Linked DNA regions of Homo sapiens: regions 2, 3, 4, 5, 6 and 7 are each linked to region 1. The links are contacts of gene promoters, found by promoter capture Hi-C in human tissues and cell types (Jung and others, 2019). All regions are on one chromosome and are shown on one strand. The core of a region is centred on a gene start or on the middle of the fragment in contact, and the rest is flanking DNA. Distances in the headings are between cores, read along the strand shown. Region 1 holds the start of HAS2 (hyaluronan synthase 2). Region 2 has its middle 430 kb from the start of SMILR. Region 3 has its middle 420 kb from the start of LINC02855. Region 4 has its middle 360 kb from the start of LINC02855. Region 5 has its middle 360 kb from the start of HAS2. Region 6 has its middle 250 kb from the start of LINC02855. Region 7 has its middle 280 kb from the start of HAS2.

Region 1 (2,821 bases), core at 113-2,612:
ACTGGGATGGCTGACTACCTGGTATTGCACTAAAATGCTTGACCCCTAATCACATCCCCCAACACTACACCTTGTGCGACGTGATGAAAGCATCATTTCCAGTTTATTCGACTTTTCTGTTTAGACTTATTCATTATAGCCCATATATGTGATAAGGACTAAGAACCCAGTCTTCAAGGTCCTGTCGAGTTCCAAAGAAGTCCACCCCTCAGAAGATCCTTGGAAGGGGAAGAAGGAAAAAAGAAAGAAAGAAAAATCTGTTTTACCCTATAACAATTTCAGCGCAATCTCCCAAGACCAAGTTGGTTAATTTGTAAAGTCACTCTCATTTTTTCCTCAACAGTGCCACCTACTGTCCATTTTCAGTCATCAGCAGGCTTGTTGGCAAGGTCCAAGAGAAAGAAAGGAGGCGGAGTGGTGGGGGGAGGAGTAACCAAAAAACGAACTCTACCCAGCCTTGGGGCATTGTGAAAACGACGAGGAAAGGCCATCTCCAAGCAAGACATATTTGTCCTCGTCAACTTTGCAGAAGGCTTGCAAAAAGCAAAAGCCAGTTAAGCCATTTCCTTCAAGATGGCTAAATATAAGTCCTCCAGAAAACAATTTTTATTATTTTATTTTTAATGCGCGCTGTTTGAGTATGTTTACGTTAGGGGACCAGATTGAGCAAAAATATACATATAATTACTTTTCTATGTTTTCCGCCCACCCACGGCAGAAACCTCTTTATGAGAAAGGCTTTGACACTTGACGTCAGCTCAGAAACTTTTGAGTTGGCGGGAAGAAAGGGTTAACAAGTGGTGGACCAGCGCGATCTTTTTAGAGTCCCAGCCGGCTGTCGAAGGCTCCAGGTACACACACACACGCACACACTTACACACACACACACACACGTGCACACACCCCTCCCAACTGTTCCTCCTTGGGTCGGTTACTTAGCTGAAGGGCACCATTTGGCTTTAAAACAAATTACTTCAGCGCCACAGGGAGTTTATCGCTTGGAGGGAACTTGTAACGCGGGAGTTCAGGGAAATCCAAGAGGCGAGGGCTCCCACCTCCGCCGCCAGAGGAAAGTAAGGAATCAGGTGGTGGCCCCCTATGTGTCTTGCATTTCTCTGCACACGTTAGCAATCAAGTTAATTGAATTCATTGGAGTTTAGAACCGGCCTGTAGCTCAGAGAAGGCTTTGAATGGCCAATTTCTCTCTCTCCCTCTCCCCCTCCCCGCCTCCCGCTCGCCCGCCCGCCCGCGCTCCCAGTTCCCTCCCCTCAGGGTTCCCCAGTCCACACCTCCCTCTCCACTTCCCTCACCCCCCCACTCCCTCCGCCGCCCTATTAAAACACCCACCAGCTCACTTGTTAAGACCCCCTTAAGTTGGAGGAGGCAGAAGGGCAACAACGGCGGGGAAGGAGAAGTCAAGACGTCTGGAAAGAATTACCCAGTCCTGGCTTCGAGCAGCCCATTGAACCAGAGACTTGAAACAGCCCCAGCCAAAGACTTTTCTCCCAATTCTGCGCTTCCTGGGTTCTGCTGAGTCTTCCACAGGCTTTTTTTTTTTTTTTTTTTTTTTTTAAGACGAAAAAGAGATTTTCTGTTATCGGGGGCAGAAAGACTGAAGCCCAAAAAAAAAAAAAAAAAAAAAAGAAAAGAAAAGAAAAAAGAAAAGTTAATTTATTTTTAAAGCATAATTTTTTTAAGAATTAGACTGAAGTGCAACGGAAACATAAAGAGAATATTAGTGAAATTATTTTTTAAAGTGGGGAAGAATCAAACATTTAAGACTCCCCTATCCTTTTTAAATGTTGTTTTTAAATTTCTTATTTTTTTTGGCCGGTCGTCTCAAATTCATCTGATCTCTTATTACCTCAATTTTGGAAACTGCCCGCCACCGACCCTCCGGGACCACACAGACAGGCTGAGGACGACTTTATGACCAAGAGCTGAACAAGGTACGTTACACTGGCGCGTTTTGGTGAAGGATGAAGGTCCTCCAACAGGCCAGGGAGAAGGAAGACATCCTTATAATTGTTTTAAAATTTTTAAGCCAGTTTCGATAGAAAAGTTGGAAGTTTAAAAATTTCCAACAGACTGAAGATCAGGGAATATTTCAGGTCACTGTCAGGCTTAGCAACATAGCCCTCTTTTCCCATTTCTGCGGCTCTCGCCAGAAATCCGCTGCCTTTCTGGGGACACAGGTAGCCTCTCTGCCTGGGAAAGGCTGCACGTCCTCAGATGTACTTTTCCATTTTGCATCTTCCGGAGCAGCAGAGGGGCTCCAGAGTTAGGAAACAAGAATTCCCAATGTAAGGAAAATGCATTCTGCACAGCCGCCCCACCCCTTCCCTTCTTTTTTTCCCACACACACACACACACACACACACTGTGGGGAGAAAAACTGGAATAGCCCAGCGCGTTTTACTTCTAAGTGAAAAAGTCGCTTCTTGCTGGGAATGCAAAGGGTTAAGCAATCTGGGCTTCCAGCTCCGACAAGCTGGGACCCTGGAGAAGGAGGGTCCTTCTCTACCTCCTCGCAGCTACCATCCCCTCTCGGCCACTCCCCCCTTTCCCGGGCCTCCCCTCCTTTGCACTTCCCGCACCCCATTAAAGTGTCAGGCTCGTCAGTCTGGGCTTACTCGGGCCAGGGGTCCCTGACGCAGGCGGTGGCACCCGCAGATAGGAGCGGGAGGAGGGCGCGCATCCCTCCTCTCCTCGCCGGGCCAGCCCGCCGGCCGCCCGGAGGCAGGGCGTGCGTGGGGACCGCGCGCTGCGCTTCGGCAGCTGCGGCGTCCCCAGAGCCAATTCCGACGTGGCACCGCGCACG
Region 2 (2,821 bases), core at 96-2,595, 500 kb before region 1:
AGAAAGCACAAACACAACACACTTTTCTTGGTCAAATTAGAGAAAAGTGGGTTCATTCAGTGGGATAAGCCTGTAGACTGAGACTAAATATTTGCAAGATATCCATTCACTCCAAGTTAATTTATAAATGTAATATAATCCTATTTAAATTTCCAATGGGGTATTTGAGCGAAATGTTGCTGAATGGTATTCTAATTACTTTTAATTCAATAAAGGTAAAATAACATGATACAGGTAAAAGGTAAGGGAAGGTAAAATAACACGATACAATTGTGTATCATGTTATTTTCCCTGAGATAAGGCTTCAAATGTACACTACCAGCTTTCTTTTTTTTTTTAAGTACACCATCTTTATGATTTACTGAGTACTGTTCACAGGTTGTATTTTTTTCTGTAAAGCTTCAGGTAGTTTCTCCCAAATGGAAGTAATTGTTCTTCTATTTTTTGACCTCTTGGGAAATTTATCTGTGCCTTTCTTTCTGCATGCACTTCTTCCTATCAAGGTGATATTTCTGTGCATTTTACTTTCCAACTCTACTAAAAAGTCTATAATGTCAATGTCTCTCTCTGGCTGAGAGAGATTCTAATGAAGCTTTTATCATCTGTTCTCATCTGTTCCAAGTGCACTCCCGTCTCCTGGCATTTGCTTTTCTTGAAGATTGTCCTTCTGCAGTTCGCTTCCTGAAGTCCAGCTCTGCAAGAGACCTCCTGTTAGAACTTGTGCTTTCATCAAGAGCATAGAAGTCTTCCAAAAGCCCGTCCCCACAGAATGCTTTTCAGTTTACTTAAAATGCCGAAAGGCAGAGGTGTGGTTTTAGAACATTCCCCCAGCTCCCCTGCCTCGCAACTCTGCTCTATCCCGTTAAAGAGCTGGGTGTTCCAAGCAGGCAGAGCTTCCCCTACCCCACCCGCTGGTCACGGTGGGACAGGCATGTACAAATCTTGGATGTTATGCTTTGTGTCTCGCAGGGAGACAAGCCCAAATAATATCAATTTCCAGCAAGTCTCCTACTGCCATGAGGAAGCAGAGACTGGCAACTTGTTGCTTCTCCCAGATGATGCCAGAAATGTGTGTAGAGTGAGATGTCCCGGGGGTGCTCAGTGGGCTGGTGTGCACTCAGTGTGGTGAGGAACAACATGTGCCCAGGCCTTGGTGATGACTTCCTCCTCCCTGTGATGTTCTCATTTCATCAACTCCATTCTTCTGTGGCCTCCCGCGTTTGCTGGGCAATTACTCACAAGTGAATGCATCTAGGAGCTACTGGTATAGACAGGAAAATTATCCTAAAATCTGCTGATTTCACCAGGAAGGAAACTTAGCTACATTTTTAAAAGTTCACATATTCAAAATTGAATGTAAAAATTAAATTTTGTGAGTTTGTTAGAATTGAAGTTGAAACAGAAAAGTATAATGGCAAATTAAGTTCAAATGAGTTAGTCAACTAATACATTAATTCCTTTGTTCATTTAGTTAAGAAATATTTTTTGAGCCGACTCCATGTATAGGGTTACAGAGACCTCCTTATCTTATCTGTTGCAATATTTTGTAAGACAATGTCTGAGCCCTGGTGATATATAATTCATTATTATAGCTGGCTTTTTCTGTCTTATGTCAATATACAACCAATGCCACCATTTAAACTGAGAAATAGGGTCATAAGTGAGGCTTAACATTTTCTCTGGTGTTGTGAGACTTTCCTTATGTTGTTCAGTTTAACATATTTGTAGTGTGTCATTGAACTAAAAAAACCATACACACATTTTCTCAATAAATATTAACATAGTCTACCATGATGTCTAGGAGATCAGAGCAATTTTTACATGTTACTCAGGCCAACTACTTTAAAATTGTTTAATATCTAAGTCTCCCTCCCCACAAAGTTGATATCACGTTAAATACCATTATTTATACATTGATTCTGGGGACTAAAGCCAGGTTCATTTATTTCTGATCATCTTCCAATTCATGCAACATCATCCATCTATTACCTATATTACCCTGGATTCTTCACTAAGTGGTACAAGAGTTCCCTGAGGGTTTCTCATCAGTTTCCTACCTTTGAGTCTACAAAGAAGCATAATAATGACTATAAAATCGTACTAATTGCAGCATAACTCTAAAACATATTAAATGGAAGGGAGAAATTACACCAATATCAGCAGTGATAAAATTAACATTAACCAAATTTATCATTGTTGTTTGTTTTCAGACTAACACTACATTGAATACTTTATTATAGCATTATATTCAATCTTCATCATAATCTCTGTATTATGCAGGCATCGTTATTATCACTATTTTAAAGTTAAGAAAATTGGGGATTGGAGATTTTGAGTAACTTCCCCATGGTTACACATCTAGTGTCAAAGATGAAATTTGAATCTATCTGATTACATCTAACTCTGAAGCAATAGTTTTACATTGTATGTTGTATTGACTTCTCTATCCAGTGAGTCTCTTTGTTAAACTCTTCAATTTCCATAAAAGGATGTCAGCACTCCCAAATGTGTATGATCAAATATAAAAATGTACTGTAATTCCAAGATAAAAATTCACTAGAACATCAAACTGAGATAGGGATATAAAGTTCAGCTATTACCCTTTTTAAGAAAAGACAAAATAAAAGACTTTATTTTTATTTATTTATTTGTTATTTGGAGACAGAGTTTCGCTTGTCACCTAGGCTGGAGTGCAATGGTGCATATCTCTGCTCACTGCAACCCCTGCTTCCCAGGTTCAAGCGATTCTCCTGCCTCAGCCTCCAGAGTAGCTGGGATTACAGGCAGGTGCCACCACACCTGGCTAATTTTTGTATTATTA
Region 3 (2,821 bases), core at 82-2,581, 480 kb before region 1:
GATCTTGGCAGGAGCTGCTTTGCTTTAATCGTGTGTTGAGGAAAACAATCAGACATCACAAGCGGGAACAAGAATGGAAGAACAGAGGTAATTCAATTTCTATAGTGTTTTTTATTTTACTACCTTGCAAAGAACCTGGTATATAATAGACGCTTATTAAAGATTTTTTGAATAAATGACTAAGCTGGAACTCTGTAGTTCCAGTCTCTTTAAAAGATTAGCAAATATTTATCCAAAAAGGTCCAAACAGTAGATATTTTAGGCTTTGAGGATCATATTATCTCTATCATGTAGGGCAAAGACAGCCATAAAACACCGGTTTCTCATACAGTCATTCATAACAGAATTTCCATAAACTCCTACTTCTGTATCTGTTTAGTTTATAATATCAATGTCTGCATAATCTGCTTTCTCCCACTTTAGAGTGGATAAGCCATTCATACCCCTAGTTAAGCTTTGCCTCTTCCTCTCTTAGCGATTACTTTTTACATACGCAAGAATGCTGCCCTATCAACTGCCCCCCACCTTGTATCTCAATTTTATCTCTTGAATTAATCCTATCAGCATACACACACTGTTATTTCTCACATTTTATTACAAGGGAACTTCTCTTGATTTCACTTCCATCCTCCTGACATCATCTCAATTCTTCTGCTCTCTTTAAAGCCAAGTTCTTTTAAAGAATCATCCATATTGACAGTCTCCAGCTCCTCATTTCCTATTCTCTCCTAAATCCACCACTACAAACAGAATTTTGCCTTTCTTACTGCATCACAAAAAAATTACCCTTGTCAGTGTCACCAATGACTTCGATATTGCTGATGTAATTCTCACTCCTCACATGTTTATCTATCAAAATCATTTAACACTCCACCCTGAAACACTCCTTCCTTGGTGTCCAGGACATCACACTGTCCTTATTTATTTATTTTTTTTCCTACAGTGTTAGCTCTTAATTCTCAGTCTCTTCTCCTTTTCCTTTTTCATGCCTTAAAAGATGAGGTGAGACTTTAACAACTAAGTGCTCTGAAGCATTTCCTTACGCTTCTTAACTTGTCTTTCTTCATATACTTCCTTAATGATCTCATCAAATTTCACGTCTTTAGATAATATATATTTACTGAAAGCTTCCAAATGCATGTTTATAATGAGAACCTCTCTGTTATTCTTGAGACTTATATATTCAATATATAAACAATATCTCCACTCTTTTGTCTAATAGAATCTCATACTAAACTGAACTCCTGATTCCTTCTCATACCCATGCCACACCAAAAAAGAAAAATCCTTACTGTGTTCATCAAATTTATAACAAGTCCATCCTTTCACAAAACTTGGAGTCACATCATCTTTGACTTCTATCTTTGTCCAATATCTCATATCCAATCTATCCTTATTATTGCTTAAGTTTACATTCAAAAGAAATGCATAATGCAATCACTTTTTGTTACTTACAATGCTTCCACTTTGGCCACATCATCATTCTGTTTCACCTAGATTACTACAAATATTGCCCATGTAGAACACCTTCTTCTGTCCTTTCCCTATTCTGCCACAGTCTAATTTCAACAGAGGAGCTAAATTGATCTCTTTAAAATCTCTAATCTAAAACTCTATAATGCTTCTTTCTTTCTGTTGCTTAGAATAAAATCCAAAGTCATTACAATGTACTCCAAGCTCTATATGATCTGGCTCCTGTTAATGGCCAAATGATCATCTTTCTTAATACTTCCCTACTTTCTCAATCCATTCTAACCACATTTGATCTGCATACTCTTCCCAACTATTACATTTCAAATGTATATTTGAAATACTCTTCCCAACTATTCCCAACTCTTCCCATATTCCCAACTATTCCCATACTATTACATTTCATGCTATTTCATCCCATGCTATTACATTTCAACTCTTCCCATCTTCTCAACTATTCCCATACTCTTCCCAACTATTACATTTCAAATGTATACTATTACATTTCCCATGCTATTACATTTCAAACTCAGGGTCTTTATACTTGCAGCTTCCCTTGCCTTCAATTACGCACTTCCCCCGCCCAAGGAACACATACACATCTATATGACTCACTTTCTTATTTCAGGTGTTTGCTCAAATGATACTTTCTGATTAAGACTCTTCCTTATCACCGTATTTAAATTTGCAATCCAGGATCTAGAACTTTGCCAAAAACATAGGGAGTGATGAATTAATATTCATAATAAGTGAAAGAATATGTGCATGTTTGGAAGGAATCAATTAAATTGAACAGAATACTAGTCATGACATGATCTGACATTCCTCCTCCAAATATAGGCTTTTCCCTGTAACTTTTTTGTACTCTTAAGTTTTTAAAATTTTATTTTATTTTAGGATACATGGACATGTTTGTTACGTGAGATGTTGCATACTAGTAGAAATTGGGCATCTAGGGTACCCGTCACCCAAATAGTGAGCCTTGTACCCAAAAGGTTATTTTTCAACCCTCACCCCTTCCCACCCTCCTTCCTTTTGTAATCCCCAGTGTCTTTCAATCTATATGTTCATGCATATCCATTGTTTGCCTCCCACTTATAAGTGAGAACAACTAGTATTTTATGTTCTGTTTCTGAATCAGTCCATTTAGGGTAATAGCCTTCAGTTCCATGCATGTTGCTGCAAAGAACATGATTTTGTTCGTTTTTATTATTGAATAGGGTATCCTTTCTCCATTGTTTATTTTTGCCAACTTTGTTGAAGATCAGTTGGTTGTACGCATGTGGTTTTATTTCTGCGTTCTCTATTCTGTTCCATTGATCTATTTGTCTATTTTTGTACAAATACCATT
Region 4 (2,821 bases), core at 166-2,665, 410 kb before region 1:
CTTTTTTATGGCTGCATAGTATTCCATGGTGTATATGTGCCAAATTTTCTTTATCCAATCTATCATTGATGGACATTTGGGTTGGTTCCAAGTCTTTGCTATTGTGAACAGTGCTGCAATAAACATACATGTGCATGTGTCTTTATAGTAGAATGATTTATAATCCTTTGGGTATATATGCAGTAGTGGGATTGCTGGGTCAAATGATATTTCTGAGTCCAGATCCTTGAGGAATTGCCACACTGTCTTCCATAATGGTTGAACTAATTTACACTCCCACCAACAGTGTAAAAGCATTCCTATTTCTCTACATCCTCTCCAGCATCTGTTGTTTCCTGACTTTTTAGTGATCACCATTCTAATTGGTGTGAGATGGTAACTCATTGTGGTTTTGATTTGCATTTCCCTAATGACTAGTGATGATGAGCTTTTTTCCATATGTTTGTTGGCCACATAAAATGTCTTCTTTTGAGAAGTATCTGTTCATATCCTTTGCCCACTTTTTGATGGGTTTTTTTTTTCTTGTAAATTTGCTTAATTTCCTTATAGATTCTGGATATTAGCCTTTTGTCAGATGGATAGATTGCAAAAATTTTCTCCCATTGTGTAGGCTGCCTTTTCACTTTGATGATAGTTTCTTTGTTGTGCAGAAGCTCTTTAGTTTAATTAGATCTCATTTGTCAATTTTGGCTTTTGTTGTCATAGCTTTTGGTGTTTTAGTCATGACGTTTTGCCCGTGCCTATGTCCTGAATGATATTGCCTGGGTTTTCTTCTAGGATAGGGGTTTTATGGTTTTAGGTCTTACGTTTAAGTCTTTAATCCATCTTGAGTTAATGTTTGTATAAGGTGTAAAGAAGGGGTCCAGTTTCAGTTTTCTGCTTTTGGCTAGCCAGTTTTCCCAACACCATTTATTAAATAGGGAATCCTTTCCCCATTGCTTGTTTTTGTCAGGTTTGTTAAACATCAGATGGTTGTAGATGTGTAGTGTTATTTCTGAGGTCTCTGTTCTGTTCCATTGGTCTATATATCTGTTTCGGTACCAGTACCATGCTGTTTTGGTTACTGTAGCCTTGTAGTGTAGCTGGAAGACAGGTAGCGTGATGCTCTAGCTTTGTTCTTTTTGCTTAGGATTGTCTTGGCTATATGGGCAGTTTTTTGGTTCCATATGAAATTTAAAGTAGTTTTTTTCTAATTGTGTGAAGAAAGTCAGTGGTAGCTTGATGGGAATAGCATTGAATCTATAAATTACTTTGGGTAGTATGGCCATTTTCATGATATTGATTTTTCCTATCCATGAGCATGGAATGTTTTTCCATTTGCTTGTGTCCTCTCTTATTTCCTTGAGCAGCAGTTTGTAGTTCTCCTTGAAGAGGTCCTTCACATCCCTTGTAAGTTGGATTCCTAGGTATTTTATTCTCTTTGTAGCAATTGTGAATGGGAATTCACTCATGATTTGGCTGTTTGTCTCTTATTGGGGTATAGGAATGCTTGTGACTTTTGCACATTGATTTTGTATCCTGAGACTGTGCTGAAGTTCCTTATCAGCTTAAGGAGATTTGAGCTGAGATGGTGGGGTTTTCTAAATATACAATCATGTCATCTGCAAACAGAGATAATTTGACTTCCTCTTTTCCTATTTGAATACCCTCTATTTATCTCTCTTACCGGATTGCCCTGGCCAGAACTTCGAATACTATGTTGAATAGGAGTGGTGAGAGACGGCATTCTTGTCTTGTGCCAGTTTTCAAAGGGAATGCTTCCAGTTTTTGCCCATTCCGTATTATATTGGCTGTGGGTTTCTCATAAGTAGCTCATATTATTTTGAGATATGTTCCATCAATACCTAGGTTATTGAGAGTTTTTGGCATGAAGGGGTGTTGAATTTTGTCGAAGGCCTTTTCTCATCTATTGAGATAATCATGTGGTTTTTGTCATTGGTTCCGTTTATGTGATGGATTAGATTTTTTGATCTACATATGTTGAACAAGCCTTGCATCCCAGAGATGAAGCTGACTTCATCGTGGTGGATCAGCTTCTTGATGTGCTGCTGGATTTGGTTTGCCAGTATTTTATTGAGGATTTTCGCATCGATATTCATTAGGGGATATTGGCCTGAAATTTTCTTTTTTTGTTGTGTCTCTGCCAGATTTTGGTATCAGGATGATTCTGGTCCCATAAAATTAGTTAGGGAGGAGGCCCTCTTTTTCTGTTGTTTGAAATAGTTTCAGAAGGAATTGTACCAGCTCCTCTTTGTGCCTCTGGAAGAATTCGGCTGTGAATCCATCAGTCCTGGGCTTTTTTTGGTTGGTAGGCTATTAATTACTGCCTCAATTTCAGAACTTGTTATTGGTCTATTCAGGGATTCGACTTCTTCCTGGTTTAATCTTGGGAGGATGTATGTGTCCAGGAATTTATCCATTTCTTCTAGATTTTCTAGTTTATTTGTGTAGAGGTGTTTATAGAATTCTCTGATGATAGTTTGTACTTCTGTGGGATCAGTGGTGATATCCCCTTTATCATTTTTTATTGCATCTATTTGATTCCTTTCTCTTTTCTTCTTTATTAGTCTGACTAGCAGTCTATTTCATTAATCTTTTCAAAAAAACAGCTCCTGGATTCATTGATTTTTTGAAGGGTTTACCATGTCTCTCCTTCAGTTCTGCTCTGATCTTAGTTATTTCTTGTCTTCTGCCAGCTTTTGAATTTGTTTGCTCTTGCTTCTCTAGTTCTTTTCATTGTGATGTTAGGGTGTCGATTTTAGATCTTTCCCGCTTTCTTTTGTAGGCATTTAATGCTACAAATTTCCCTGTAAACACTGCT
Region 5 (2,821 bases), core at 212-2,711, 360 kb after region 1:
TTATTTTAAAATGACACTTCTTGTGCAATTGAAGTGTTCATACTTCTTTATTTTATGCATAACATTGAAAGCAGAGACCCACTAGCCACCTCTTAAACCATAAACTGTCATGTCAAAAAGATTCACTAAAGGCTATTTGCACATGTCATTTTAACTATCCTATAAACTAAAAGTGTGCATATGTGTGTGTGCATATGAAAAAGACTAAAGAGATCTTCCCAAAGTTGTCACTAAGAAAGATATTTGTTTAAAAGAACACTGTTATGTGAGGTTTATCCTTGAACATTTTTCTCTACATTATTGAAGTTACTTAATATCGTATCTGGAAATGGAAATATCTGAAAAGAAATGTCATTCATTGTGGAAGGCAAGAAGCAGAAATCTGAGATAAATATGCCTCTGTTAAACAGAAGCAGGCAAAATTACTGAGGGAAAGAAACCAGACATCCCCTGGTGCTCTTTCAGACAATAATTTATAAATGCCAATGCTATCATCAAATAAATAAGAAAATATACATTCAATTGAGTTATGCACATTAAATGGAAAAGGGAGAATGTGGTATAATTAAATTGTAAGAAAAAACACATCCTTTGGCATTTTAGTTCCCTGTTTTGATTAGTAAACTCTCCTTGGTAGATAAATGTTGAGGTGACCTCTATGATTCTTCTGGGCTCCTGAAGCTCCTTGATTCTAAGAAAAGAATCACTTAAATAGCTGGATACAACCGTGTAATAGGAGCTTTGAAAGTGATAGTGGGTAGAAATGCTTGCTGTAAGAATGATCAATTTTAGAAGACCTTGCTCCCTCAACTTCCCTCTTTGCCCTATAGGCTGTGTGTTCTATTTACCACCTGCTCCTGGCCATGCCCTTCAGTGGACTGCTTTGGTTTCTCTTGAAATGATTGTTATTGTTGGGAAACTTCTAATGTGATTACAAATAAAGACAACTTAGCAAGCTTTTGACGGCCACTTTTTTCCCTTTGGAAAGACTTATTCTAATTTATCTATATTTTAATGTTCCTCTACCACTATAGAATACTAGGTGCTTCATCCTTTCATTAATTACCATTCCGAGGAAGAAACAAAGTTATTTGAAAAAACAAAATCTTGTATAGAGGGACAATTACATCTTAGCGAAGAGCTTTCAAAAGTAGGATATAAGGAACTATGCTTCAAAGAGTCATAGAATAGGAGGAAGTCTCCCCTCCATTAATTTTGCACTTGATACAAAAATTTTCTAACAGACCACAAAGTCCACAAGGGCAGGAATTATGTCTGTATCATCACCAGTAGCATCATTCTTGGTAAAAAGTTGGCACTAAATACAATTTTCTTACATGAGTTAATGAATGAATGAATGACATGGAACCTGAAATTTTTTTTATAACACAATAGATTTAAAGAAATTGGTTTTGTAAAGAAATAGCTTTAATACATTTAAGTAATTGTTGGTTATCTATGTTGTGAATTAGCAAAAACTTTTTTTTTAACTCCATTTCTTTCATTGTTTCCAACTCTCAATTCGTCTGCTTCTAATTGGCATTTCTAAGAAAGAAAACACAAAGGCATACATGTTCTCAATATAATCTCCCACCAATCATGCTGCCTTGAAACTTTTTTCTGGAATACTTAAAGCAAACAATTACTAAAAGTATTATTCCATATTTCAAATATAACTACACGAGTTGCCACAATCAATACCTTTATTTTTCATAGTGTCAAAAAAGTTTTTGCTAACATGCTAACATTAATGCATGTGCACATGTTTATTTGTAGGAATATTCAAATGAACGTCATTGAGTGATGAAATTAATACACATTGGAATTAATGCTACTTTGGCTGATCCATATCAATCTTTCCCTAGTCACTGAATTTTGGTTTTAGCATTATCACTTTTGTTTGAAAAAAATTAAAATATTACTTTATTAGAAGAATTCTACTTCATAAACATTAGCTATAATACTGTGGTTAGTATCAGAGAAAATAATTTTTATGCTTTGTGGAAATCTGCAAACTATTAATTTAAGCAGATCTTAAGACTATTTATAAACCATTATAAATAAAATATATAAATATTATCAATAGATTTTATTTTTTCAGTGTACCATCTATTTTCATTTGTGGAAAAAAAAGGTCTGGTAATGTCGACATCTATTTTGGAGAATTTGAGGAAATACTAAAGTACGACACTGAGGTACAGAGAAAGTACCTCTCTAAAATCCAATTGCATTCTAGTATTTTTGCAACAAGGTTTATGTCTTTAAAACGAATTGGTGTATTATATTTATCATATATTGGCATATATTTATTACATATTTTCATATGTTATTTATTAGCAGATGGCATGTGTTATTTATGTTTCTTTTTTATTTTAAGAAATATTTGCTGGCTGTCTGGCATAGAAGCTCAATGATGTAAACCATAGACATAAAAGACTGCCTAGAAAGGCCAGGTACGGTGGCTCAAGCCTGTAATCCCAGCAATTTGGGAGGCTGAGGTGGGCAGATCACCTGAGGTCAAAAGTTCGAGACCACCCTGGCCAACATGATGAAACATTGTCTCTACTAAAAATACAAAAATTGGCTGGGCATGGTGGTGTGCACCTGTAATCCCAGCTACTAGGGAGGCTGAGGCAGGATAATTGCTTGAACTGGAGAGGTGGAGGTTGTAGTGAGCTGAGATTTTGCCACTGCACTCCAGCCTGGGCAACAGAGCAGGACTCCATCTCAAAAAAAAAAAAAAAAAAAAAAAAAAGAAAGACTGCCCAGAACATAACTTCACATTTCCTTTTAGTAAAGAAAACAGAGCTTAAAAGTTTTA
Region 6 (2,821 bases), core at 109-2,608, 300 kb before region 1:
TCTACATGCATATTAAATAGTTTCATCAAATAGTGGACTGGCTTTTTATTTGTCCTTGACCAAACTAGAAATTATTACTTACTTGGCAAAGGTTCATCTACTTCCTGGAAGAAGCTTAAAATCCTATATTTCATTTGCACTGGGTTTATATTGTGTTATTTATAAGAAGATATTCTGATGCCTTTGTTTCTTTTGTGTGTGTGTGTTTTGAGGGAAAAAAAGAATCCTTCATAGTTATTTCTTTCAAAGCTATTGTTTTCTCAAAAATTATTAATTTTTATTCTTTTTATTCTTAATGAATTTTTATTCTTTTATTCTTAAGTTATTGTATGGCAGTCTGAATAATAGATCCCCAAAGATAGCCATTCTAATCTCTGAAATCTGTAAATGCGTTATTTTATGTCACAAAAACAGCTTTACAAACATAGTTAATTTAAGGAGCTTCAGATTGGGAGAAAATCCCAGATTATCTGAGTGGACTGAATGTGATCACAAGGGTCTTTATAAGAGGAGGGCAGGAGGGTCAGAGTCAAAGATGAAGATACAGCAATGGATCAAAGGTTGGAGTGATGCAGGGTAATGGGTCAAGAAAAGCAGATAGCCTCTAGAAACTGGAATAGGCAAGAAAACAGATTCCTCCTGAACCCTTCAGGGGAAACAGTGACTTCTGATGATTTTAGCCTTGTACGACTCATTTAGGATTGTGACTTCCAGAAATGTAAAATAAATATGTTTTGGTAATTAAACCATGTACGTCATTAAATTTTTGGTAATTTATTAGAGCAGCAATAGAAAGCAATATATTAAAAAGAGGGTTTTTTTTCTTTGATTATTTCCAAAGTCAAAAAGCAGATAAAAAAGCCACAAAAATAAAATAAGTTATAAAAAAGCAGATGAAAACCCAAAAATGATATACCTTTGACATCAAAGTGGGCTCCTCATGTATTTACGTGTACATCATTTTGCCAAACAAGTGTACCTGAGCACTTGAGCTGGAGGAATCTTTTATTCCCACAAAGGGGAGGTAGATACCATAGTACATTCTGAAATGTGAGTGCTAAACATATTTGTATAATCTCCTGAGCATAAATAGATTGAGGATATATGTATATACATTTGCATATCTTTAATTTTTTATTGATTTTTAATTTTAATATTTTTAATTGATCTTGAGCTAATATACAAACTTACTTACTTTTATAACTAGATGAAAGATTATTTGAGGAAAGTATTTTTATGCCAAATAATTATTTGTTGACTAATAGATTTGGGAAAGTTTAATAGAACTTAAATAAATGATGTTAAGTGAAGTTGGTTTTGAGGGCTGTAGACAGGGCTATTCTTGAGGGGAAAAGACAGATAATTCTAAATTTTAAAAATGGTGTGCCCAAGAAAACATTTGAAGTCCATGTTTTTGAAGGTAAAAATGATTCTCTCCTCATCAGCTTTACTGGCTTTTTATAATAATGCTAAGTAAATTTAATCAAACAAAATACATTGGCTATATTACAATTAGCCTGGGTTGCCCTTGGGCACTTGTGAAAATGTGTTTGGAACCTTATATATCATGTAATGGCTCAATTTGTCTTGGCCATTGTCACAGACTGTCTTGGGCTCAAGAATTAAACCTCCCTGAATCTGGTTCAATAGATTTTGAAGACTCTTTCCCATTCTAAACACTGACTGATGCTATTATTTCATTTTAAATTACTCTATATCACAAATAGAAGGACAATTTTGAGGGCCAGATGTGGTGGTGCATGTCTGTAGTCCCAGCTACTCAGGAGGCTGAGGCAGGAGGACCTCTTGATCCCAAGAGTTCAAGGCTGCAGTGAGCTATGATCTCGCCACTACATTCTAGCTGGGTGTTGGAGGGAGACCCTGTCACTAAAAAGAACAATTTGAGGAGAAATTAACAAACTGTTGCTAATACACAGCCTTCCAAGGAAATCTTCCCTGACTACTCTAGGTTGGGTGACCCCCACCCCCCCGCCACCCACATGTTCCATTAACAACCTCAGCAAACCTCTGTTATCCCCATGTTGATATTTTATTCAAAATATCTTTTTATAGGCCTGTCTTTCTCTTTTGGATATAAATGCCTGATGGCATAGACCATGTCTAATTTGTTTTTGTTTATTATAGGCCCTCAATAAATATACAGTTGAACCTAAGTACACATTTATTAGCCACTTCCCCTTCCCTACTCCATTCCTTTGAGGTGCTTACAGGACTTCAAGTGAGAACATGCATACATCTTGTGAGGGTTATCAGATGTCCTCTCTTAGTCTAGCAAAATATCCAAAGCTCAAATCTTTCACTCATTCTCTTCACAGATGAAGACCTTTTCATAAAGCCTAATTTCTGCTGTTTTGGTTTCAAGTTCATCAAAACCCTTATACAATGATTTTATACACTATTTGCAATCTCTATAAATAAACATAAACAGTACATGCTTTTTTTTTTTTTTTTTTTTAAGACAGAATCTCACTCAGTCACCAGGCTGGAGCACAGTAGTGAGATCTAGGCTCACTGCAACCTCCACCTCTCAGATTCAAGCAATTCCCCCGCCTCAGCCTCCTGAGTAGCTGGGACTACAGGCTCGTCCCACCACGACCAGCTAATTTTTTATCTTTTAGTAGAGACAGGTTTTCACCATGTTGGCCAGGATGATCTTGATCTCCTGACCTCATGATCCGCCTGCCTCAGCCTCCCAAAGTGCTGGGATTACAGGAGTGAGCCACCACACCCAGACAACAGTACATGCTTTCTATCTGTATTAGTCCATTCTCACACTGCTCTAAAGTCATACCTGAGACTG
Region 7 (2,821 bases), core at 168-2,667, 280 kb after region 1:
CATCTGGGAAAACCTTTATGATGAGTTTTAAGTCCTCGGTATGTGCTTATATAACTCCCTAAACTCTGCATTTATCGTAGTTATCATTGGTATATTTATTTATTTGTTTGTTTGTTTTTTGAGACAGAGTCTTGCTCTATTGCCCAGGCTGGAATGCAGTGGTGCGATCTCTGCTCACTGCAACCTCCACCTCCCTGGTTCAAGAGATTTTCCTGCCTCAGCCTCCCGAGTAGCTGGAATTACAGGTGCACTCCACCATGCCTGGCTAATTTTTGTAATTTTAGTATAGATGGGGTTTCATCATATTGGTCAGGCTGGTCTCGAACTCCTGACCTAGGTGATCCACCTGCCTCAGCCTCCCAAAGTGCTGGGATGACAGGTGTGAGCCACCGCGTCCAGCCATCATTGGTACATTTATATATAGAATATTATGTATGTAATTATTTATGTAATATTTCTTACTATCCAGCCTATACGCTATTAGGAATGAGACTGTGTTTTACTGTTCATGGCTTTGTTCCTATAATTGAGCCCAGTGTCTATCACATAGCATACATTCAAGAAATGTTTGAAGATGGGAGAGAGAAAAGGAGGGAGAGAGAGAAAAAGAGAGGGAGGGAGGGAGAGAGGGAGGCAGGTAGGAAGGAAAGGAAAGGAGTCTGAATGGACTTTTCCTCCAAATAATAGGGTGCTTAGGGATGGAAGTTGGAGGTTTGGGGGGAGTAAAGGGGATAAAGGTCTTATCAACTATTTCTAGATGGAAAAAAATAAACCAACATATCTCCATCTTTGTGCAAAATGTTAGTTCTTTTCTTTTAGAATAGGTCATTCATATTTACAAAAGTTGGCCATGCTTTTAAAATTTTTTTAAATTTTAATTTTTATGTCTGGGATCTAATCTGCCTACTTGCACATCGCTTAGAAATGGGTTGTGGGCAGCCCTGGCTGAACAATAGCTGCTGGGATTTCTAAATGCACAGGCAAAAGGCTCTGGGGAAGTAAGAAGCATGAATTTTATTAACCTAGAGAAAGCGACACTAATATTATTAATTCCTTTTGCTTGTAAAATGGGAGGATATAAAGGTGGTAAAAATAGTTTTGCCGGTCTATCTTCAAACGGGTAACTGGGAGGCTGGTAGGAATTTTCAATCATAATATAACAAAATCTAGAAACAAAAAAGTTCCTTTTCATTTGCACAGAGGCTCTGTTGAAGCTGAAATACTTGTGGGATATTAGGAATGAAAAATGTCAGCATGCACACTGCCCAGGCTTGCCTGGTTTATGGCTCCCACCTCGTGGCCGTCATTACTGCCCAGAAAAAGAAACTCTTTGTCCCTGGAGCATTACTTTTCAAAGACAAGAAACATCCAGAAGCGTCCTCTCACTTTGACATATAGGTCATGGCATTCAGAGAATAATGTGAGGAATCACCAAGTGCCAGCTCCTTGAATCATTGGGAGATGAAGCTATTTAGTGTGGGTCCTGCTAAGCTTTTTTGCTCCTATGAATTTCCTTCCTTAATGGAAAGTCACTTTTTGAGTGAACAAGATTTGGATTCTTCAGTGGCTTGAAATGCAAGGCTTGTAAACAAATAAAAGGCCAAAAAGGGTGGTAGTTGGCAGGGGGAGAATATAGGAAATGAAGAGAGAGGGAAATGTCATTTAACATCTTAACCTAAAGCCTGTATTAGTGACCTGCGTGTGTGTGTGTGTGTTTTGCAATCCACAAGAGAAATACCAATCCTCTAATTCAAAGCTGAAATGATCCAGACTTTACAATGAGTGCATTTCCTCATTTTCTAGTAGATTGAGAGGCTTGTTGGATGGAGAAAGAACACCCACTAATTCCTACCCCAAACCCAAGAGAAAGACAAGACTGGCATGTGTATCCTGCCCTCTGTCAGGAATCCCCTTACATCTCCAGCCTCAAGTCAGGCCCAAGAGAGGAAAGATGAGTTTCTGGCACAGCTCTGGAAGCAGTGGTCTATTTCTTAGAGGTGAGGGTGCTGTAACCTCTGCTTTTTCAAAGCAAATCATTTTAAGCCCAACTTCGTGGTTTGTATTTATTAAAATAGTGGTACTGAAGGAGGACAATTGGTTCTTTTCCTGGATATCTTACATGAATTCCAGCCAAGTCATTTTGTTGAAGTCAGATCTAACCAGAGTTCCTGTGTACACTGTGCCTAAAATACACAGCAAACAAGAAAAGCAGATTGTTTTGCATGAGCTCAAGTCATGACTGACTCACATTGTCCGGCTTGAGGTGGCATGTACTTGTGACATGTGGTAGAGAATATGATCACCGTAAAACTTAAAAACTTTGAAATGAATTAAAGAGCTAATAAAGATACAGTGTTAGAACGAACAAGTGCACCCTAGGCACAAGCCCTGAACTGCACTGGGCATTTTTGTATGATTACCTTTAGACAGCCTCTTCTCCATGACTGAGCTTTTATGCCTTCTCTTTCCAAATATCTTGTTTTCTATGAGAAAGTAGAGACCAGGGTTTCCTTTCTGTTATCCTTCACATTACCTAACATATTAGCAAATATTGTGTACCGGCTACTGCTCTAAAATATTTAATGCCCCCTAAAACCTTATAAGGTGAAGTTCTTTGTTTAGTTTTATTTTTGATTGACAAACAATAATTGTGTATATTTATGGGGGACAAAGTGATATTTTAATACACATATACACCATGGAAAGAGCAAATCAGAGCAATAAAAATCAGGAAATCCTGCCATTGGCCACAACATGGATGAACCTAAAGGACGTTATATTAAGTGAAATACACCAGACACAAAGAGTCAAATGTCATATG

What was found. The method cuts DNA at HindIII sites, captures the fragments that hold promoters and counts their contacts. A contact is called where the count stands out against the background at its distance.
Region 2: a fragment that was not itself captured here is called in contact with the fragment with the promoter of HAS2 in region 1 in 1 of the 25 tissues and cell types used here (H1 embryonic stem cells).
Region 3: a fragment that was not itself captured here is called in contact with the fragment with the promoter of HAS2 in region 1 in 1 of the 25 tissues and cell types used here (IMR-90 fibroblasts).
Region 4: a contact is called between a fragment that was not itself captured here and the fragment with the promoter of HAS2 in region 1, in 2 of the 25 tissues and cell types used here (H1 embryonic stem cells and IMR-90 fibroblasts).
Region 5: a contact is called between a fragment that was not itself captured here and the fragment with the promoter of HAS2 in region 1, in 1 of the 25 tissues and cell types used here (dorsolateral prefrontal cortex).
Region 6: a fragment that was not itself captured here is called in contact with the fragment with the promoter of HAS2 in region 1 in 2 of the 25 tissues and cell types used here (aorta and mesenchymal stem cells).
Region 7: a contact is called between a fragment that was not itself captured here and the fragment with the promoter of HAS2 in region 1, in 1 of the 25 tissues and cell types used here (H1 embryonic stem cells).

The regions. Positions count from the first base shown.
Region 1 is chr8:121,639,981-121,642,801 of GRCh38, reverse strand. HAS2 (hyaluronan synthase 2) reads left to right here and starts at 1,362. Exons shown (of 4, transcript NM_005328.3): 1 at 1,362-1,949. It also overlaps HAS2-AS1. RefSeq lists an enhancer at 80-703. The HindIII fragment of the contact is 13,134 bases long and covers 1-2,821 here.
Region 2 is chr8:122,135,627-122,138,447 of GRCh38, reverse strand. No RefSeq gene overlaps it. Among named protein-coding and RNA genes, the nearest start is that of SMILR, 430 kb to the left of the region's middle. The HindIII fragment of the contact is 3,663 bases long and covers 1-2,821 here.
Region 3 is chr8:122,118,989-122,121,809 of GRCh38, reverse strand. No RefSeq gene overlaps it. Among named protein-coding and RNA genes, the nearest start is that of LINC02855, 420 kb to the right of the region's middle. The HindIII fragment of the contact is 4,493 bases long and covers 1-2,821 here.
Region 4 is chr8:122,054,353-122,057,173 of GRCh38, reverse strand. No RefSeq gene overlaps it. Among named protein-coding and RNA genes, the nearest start is that of LINC02855, 360 kb to the right of the region's middle. The HindIII fragment of the contact is 6,115 bases long and covers 1-2,821 here.
Region 5 is chr8:121,279,929-121,282,749 of GRCh38, reverse strand. No RefSeq gene overlaps it. Among named protein-coding and RNA genes, the nearest start is that of HAS2, 360 kb to the left of the region's middle. The HindIII fragment of the contact is 4,388 bases long and covers 1-2,821 here.
Region 6 is chr8:121,943,651-121,946,471 of GRCh38, reverse strand. No RefSeq gene overlaps it. Among named protein-coding and RNA genes, the nearest start is that of LINC02855, 250 kb to the right of the region's middle. The HindIII fragment of the contact is 5,685 bases long and covers 1-2,821 here.
Region 7 is chr8:121,355,794-121,358,614 of GRCh38, reverse strand. No RefSeq gene overlaps it. Among named protein-coding and RNA genes, the nearest start is that of HAS2, 280 kb to the left of the region's middle. The HindIII fragment of the contact is 4,755 bases long and covers 1-2,821 here.